Linked DNA regions of Homo sapiens: region 1 is linked to region 2. The links are contacts of gene promoters, found by promoter capture Hi-C in human tissues and cell types (Jung and others, 2019). All regions are on one chromosome and are shown on one strand. The core of a region is centred on a gene start or on the middle of the fragment in contact, and the rest is flanking DNA. Distances in the headings are between cores, read along the strand shown. Region 1 overlaps RNF8 (ring finger protein 8). Region 2 holds the start of GLO1 (glyoxalase I).

Region 1 (3,014 bases), core at 400-2,899, 1.3 Mb after region 2:
GTTACTTCAACTTAACTCCCAGGGGATGGGCTTGAGCCTTTGCCATTCTAATGAGTCTGTGAAGGGACTGCTGGTTTATCTTTATTCCTGGATGGCATATTAAGAAAAATAAACTTAATTTCTATTACACAGTCAAACGCAAGTGTTACTTTCCCAGTTCTAGATATTATCACTGGAGCATATAAATTGCATTAGCTTTCATAGCAGATCTAGTACACTGCCAGTGTATCCTCGAACTTAGGAATGATTAAATTTCTTGGTCTCCCCCTCCTCCAAGAAATGCTATCCTAAGTCCTGTCTCTTCTGCTCTATACTTGACTGGATGGAAAACCTTGGATTCAAGCGCAGGACCTTAGATTGATTCCTATTAAATTTCATCTTGCTAGTTCAGCCTATCAAACCAATTTGTCAAGACCTTTCTGAATTTTTAATCTGCCATCAGATCAGACATACTTAATATCTCTTCCACCAAATTTATGAGATGATGCCTTCTATACCTTCGTTCAAGACACAGAATGGGATGCAGCCAAAGGCAAAGTTTTCAGGAAAACCTAGTAAACATTAACCCACACCATCTGGATATACCTTCAGCCAGTTATAATTCAACCAAAAGTCTTTGCATTGGAGTACATATTCTCTGTCTTATCCACAAGAACAGCTTGAGAGCTTCCGGAAAAGGTTGAAAAGAAGCCCCAGTTCACATCTATCATACTTTCCTGTTGGACCAGTCTAGTTCATAACAACCCTGTGAAGGAAGGAAATGAAATTCTTCTGAGTTCCAGATCACAGAATTCCCTTATTCTTTTTTGTTTGTTAATTTTTTTTTGTTTTTTTGAGAGAGTCTTGCTTTATCACCCAGGCTGGAGTGCAGTGGCACGATCTTAGCTCACTGCAACCTCTGCCTCCCGGGTTCAAGCAATTCTCCTGCCTCAGCTTCCACGTAGCTGGGATTACAGGCACGCACCACCACACCCAACTAATTTTTGTATTTTTAGTAGAGACGGGGTTTCACCATGTTGGTCAGGCTGGTCTCGAACTCCTGATCTCAAGTGATCTGCCTGCCTCAGCCTCCCACAGTGCTGGGATTACAGGTGTGAGCCACCGCGCCCGGCTCCCTGCATATTCTTCTTAGTGCACAAACGACCTCTTTAATGTCCCATATCACAACCTTAACTGGGAACTTTAAACCAAAGTTAGCTAAAACTGCCCTCTTCTCTTCTCTTTAAAATCTTTCAGAATGCCTGTCCTCCTCAGTCCCTCAAAGACCACCACGACTCACTGACCTAATCTATTCCTCCCCACAAACTCTTATCTCAGTATTCACAATACTATCCAACCAACTACTCAACCCATAACCCAGAAGCCATCTTTGATTCATCTCTGTCCCTCATCCCCACATTGAAATCACTGGTAAATTATATGGGCTATAATTCAAATATGTCCTAAGTCTGTTCATTCCTATCTCTGCAGCCACAGCCTTAGTCCAAACCACCTGGCCTCCTACTGTTTCTGTTCTCACTCTAGCCCCCATAAGCTTTATAATAGTAACTGGAATAGAAATGTAAAAATTTTAAATCAGGTCATTTTCCTTCTTTCCTTAAAACTGTCCAATCATTCAAACTTCCTTCCATGGCCTATAAGACCCTGAATGTCCTGAGCCCTTCTACTCTTTAGTCTTAACTCATACCATAGTGCCAACACTAGCTGCTCCAGCCCCTCAAACTTTTTTGTTGTTGTTGTTCCTTAAGCCCATCTCCCCGAAGTGCCAGCCTACCTGAGGGTCTTTTCACTTAGCCCCTCTGCTAAGAACACTCTTCTCTCAGATCTTGCACAGGCTCCTTATCTTTCATGTTCCAGCTACTCATAAGCCTACTCTGATTACCTCTGTCTAAAGTTGGTTGTCTGCTTCCCATCATATTTCTTCAGTTATTAGGAAGTACTTATCACAGACCAAAATTATCTTGTTTATTTTACTTTTCCCCTCTGTCCCCGTAATAGAATATAAATTAGATAAGCAGGGACTTTATCTGTCTTGTTTACCACTGTGTTTCTATACCTGGCATAGTGTTCAGTTAAGTATTTGAGAATGAATGAAAGAATAAAGAGGTCTTGCATATGAGTCCTCAAGATTTTAGGGTGGGTGTTTTTAGGTCAGAAGTTAGAGACTGTATTACCATTGGAAAATATGGAGCAGCAGTTGGAACTCATACAGTCTCACTTGTTTCTCTTTAAAATGTTGTGGTGATCACTCCACCAACACTGAGCACAAAGTTTTTCAGTTCTTTCACACTCTGCCAGAATTATATTAATTATAGAAGTTCCTCTGAATACACATATCTGTTAAAAATGGAATGGCTAGGGATTTATCTGTCGTCCATATTCAGTAAAATTTCTATTTAGGTAGCTTTATCTCTAAGAGAGGAAGCATCTCATATTACATGCTAATACTTGAGGGGAGACAGCCAGACTGCCATTGTGAGTAGCCAGGGGAAAACAGTACCAAAACAGTAGAAGAGTGCCTTTTCCTGACATTGCCTCCAACAGACTCTGAACCCAGAAAAAGGAATCATTCTTTTACATCCTTCCCTGCACTGCCTGGTCTTAGAATTTACCTTGGTACTACTGATATTTCACCTATACTGTAGTTAAAGAGTGCAGTGAGGTTACCTGGAAATCTCAGGACCACTCAACATAACACTGAATTTCCCGTGGGAACTGACTGACGACCCATATGTGAGGGGTTGTTTTCATTTACAATAGTTTTGCAAGCCTTTGAGCTTACACACATTATTGATCTAAAAGATCATCCTGTCTTTGCCCACCTTCACTAAGACTATCTCTTTCCTCCTGGGCACAATTCCTACTGTTTCTCAAATAACAAGTAAATCTGGCCAGGTGTGGTGGCTCACACCTGTAATTCCAGCACTTTGGGAAGCCCAGGCGGGCGGATCACATGAGGCCAGGAGTTCGAGACCAGCCTGGCCAACATGGCGAAACCCCACCTCTATTGAAAA
Region 2 (3,124 bases), core at 99-2,598:
TGCTTCAATCACAGGAGTAAGCACAGGTCCTAGGCCAGGCCAATCACAGCTCCTTCTTGGATTTTCCAATTTGATAAAATCCAGGCTGGCTGGATAAAATCCAGAGGGAGAGTTTACTCCCACTCCTAGTGAGAGAACAGCTGCCAAATTTCTAGTCTTATGGAGCTGGTGTCTGACAAACTGAAGCTGCGATGCAGAAAAAAGCTGAGATGAGAGACGGGGACATCTTGGTGGTGGCCAGGTGGCTAGTGCCATATACATCCCTGCCCAACCTCATTTTGGTTAGGTGAGCACCAGTCATTCCCATTTATTCTTTTAACAACAGGAAGTATTTAATGAGCATCTACTATTATGAGCCAATCATTGAAGACACAGTGATGACTAAGCCTTCCAGTGAACACAAAATATATATTAATGTAAAAAGTACTGCAAGTTATGGACATTTGGAACCTAAGTAGGCAAACCATGACTTAAATCTCATTTAGGCTGGGCACAGTGGCTACACCTGTAATCCCAGCACTTTGGGAGGCTGAGGCGGGAGGGTCACTTCAGCCCAGGAGTTGAGACCAGCCTGGGCAACATGGTGAAACCCCCATCTCAAAAAAATACAAAAATTAACTGGTCTTGGTTTTGCAGCCTGTAGTCTCAGCTAATCGGGAGGCTGAGGCCAGAGGACAGCTAGAGCCCCGGAAGTCGAGGCAGCAGTGACTGCAGTAAGCTGAGAGCACACCACTGCACTCCAGCCTGGGCGACAGAGCGAGACACTGTTAAAAAAATTAAAAAAAAAAAAAAAAGAAAGAAAGAAAGAAAAGAAAAAAGAAAAAGGAAAAGAAAACTTATTTAATTCTCAACAAATCCTGTTAGGAAGCTCAGAGAGGGTCAGTAATTATTGCAAGTTTCTAGCGCTAATATATAGCGGAACCAAGACTTGAACATAGGTTTTCGACTCAACAATTGTTTTAATTACTCTGCGCTGCGTAAACTGAGAAACCTCTGAATCCTTACAATTTTAAAAGAACAACTTACAGTTTTCAGTTTCCATCAGATTCCAATTTTCTACCAAATTGCAGCCCTGAGGTATGAATGGTTACCAAACTTTAGTTAAACAAACAAAATTAGCTCATTAAGTAACAGAGAAACCACTCTGCCCAGCCTGCATTTTTTTTTTTTTTTTTGTATGAGTTTGCCTCCTTTATGCGCAAGGCTCCTTGGGAGTTGTAGTCTGAGGCATAGTCCTGTGGGTGGAGGCGCTGACTCACTGGGACCCAATCAGCAGAGAGTCAACTTGCTCTCCGCGCAGCGATTGGCTGGAAGTCAGCGGTCTCCCGCCCGCGGCGCCATCGCGCCATTCCTAGTTAAGGCGGCACAGGGCCGAGGCGTAGTGTGGGTGACTCCTCCGTTCCTTGGGTCCCGTCGTCTGTGATACTGCAGCGCAGCCATGGCAGAACCGCAGCCCCCGTCCGGCGGCCTCACGGACGAGGCCGCCCTCAGTTGCTGCTCCGACGCGGACCCCAGTACCAAGGTGGGCACAGGACCGAAGGGAACGGCTCCCCCAGCTCCGCTGGGCCGGGACCGGGCCGCATTCTATCCAACCCCATCCCGCCGCCGCTGCAGGTCCGCCGGCCTCGGGCGGACGGGAGTGTGATGGGAAGAGGGATAATGGTGTTTGATGGGGCGATCGTGGGGCCCGCGAAGTGTGGAGGGGATCTGTTGCCTCAGCTAGTTTCAAAGACTGCGACCCTGTTTTGAATTGGCTTGTTTATGTTGCGACGGTGGCTGGAAGCCAGGCCAACCCAGGGTCAGCTTTCCCAAATCAGTCGCCAAGGCCCACGAGAACAGTAGTTTCAGAACTCCCAGAAATAGGTTCAAAGATGCCTGTCCTGTACCAGTCCTGCCCAGCCTCGTTTTTCCTTACCACCCTGACTGCAGTCTTAACTCCTGCAAACTAATTTGATCGCTCTAAGTTTAACCGCGCCCAGAATTTCACTTTTGCTTGCTTGGCCTTTGCTGTGGGTCACAACAGCCCTTCTTGCCTTCCTCATCTTCGTGGGGCCCAGGAGAGATTACAGAATCATAGAGTTTGGATCTGAAAGGAATCTTAGAAATTCCTTCTCTTACCCTCTCGTTTTACAGTAATGACCCAGTAAGAGAAATGACCTGTTGCATACAAAGGCTTTCACTTACCGAACATGTCTTTACTGGGTAAGAATCAGTGTAACTCACTCAGGTGTGGTGTTTCGGTTGCCTTGTTAAGATCAGACACAGTTGGCGGGCGCGGTGGCTCACGCCTGTAATCCCAGCACTTTGGGAGGCCAAGGCGGGCGGATCACGAGGTCAAGAGGTAGAGACCATCCTAACACGGTGAAACCCCGTCTCTACTAAAAATACAAAAAAATGAGCTGGGCGTGGTGGCGGGTGCCTGTAGTCCCAGCTACTCGGGAGGCTGAGGCAGGAGAATGGCATGAACCCGGGAGGCGGAGCTTGCAGTGAGCTGAGATCGTGCCACTGCACTCCAGCCTGGGCGACAGAGTGAGACTCTGTCTAAAAAAAAAAAAAAAAAAAAATTCAGGCACAGTAACCGCTGTTTATTCCAGTGAAGTCATCAGTGTCTGTAAACACCTTTGTATTTATTTATTTGACTACATCATTTGTAAATTCCTTGAAGATTGAATATGTGCTTCGTGCAGACCTTTAAAAGGGGTAGATAAGTGGTCCATGACTCTGGTCCCTGCTTGTTCTTTACCTTCAGGGCAAAGAGTCAGACACATCTCATTGCTAAAACTTTTGACTAGCACCTGGTACTTGGCTTAGGAAAAATGTTAGTCATTGCAAAATTAAGGGGGAAGGTAAAAAAATTCCGTCATGCCCATCTCACTTGTATATCCCTTAATATTAATACCTGGTTTTTTCATATAATGTAAATTGAGTCACTCAGTGTAAAGTATTTTCCCAGATAACTAGGGGTTTTATGTAATGGGGTTTTCAAATAAAAAGGATTCCAGGGATATCTTTATAAAATATACTAAGTAAATGTCCTTGCAGCTTAATTTACATTCCACAGTATCTAAATTTCTCTTGATGATTCGGAGTAATTAATTTTGAGATCAGTAATTTTTGGCCATGG

The links. The method cuts DNA at HindIII sites, captures the fragments that hold promoters and counts their contacts. A contact is called where the count stands out against the background at its distance.
Region 1: a fragment that was not itself captured here is called in contact with the fragment with the promoter of GLO1 in region 2 in 1 of the 25 tissues and cell types used here (dorsolateral prefrontal cortex).

The regions. Positions count from the first base shown.
Region 1 is chr6:37,356,914-37,359,927 of GRCh38, reverse strand. The region is part of intron 1 of RNF8 (ring finger protein 8); the gene reads right to left. Among named protein-coding and RNA genes, the nearest start is that of RNF8, 4.4 kb to the right of the region's middle. The HindIII fragment of the contact is 4,796 bases long and covers 1-3,014 here.
Region 2 is chr6:38,701,369-38,704,492 of GRCh38, reverse strand. It overlaps GLO1 (glyoxalase I), which reads left to right and starts at 1,348. Exons shown (of 6, transcript NM_006708.3): 1 at 1,348-1,522. The coding sequence starts at 1,439. RefSeq lists enhancers at 1,072-1,231, 1,412-1,511, 1,532-1,581, 1,614-2,206. The HindIII fragment of the contact is 19,947 bases long and covers 1-3,124 here.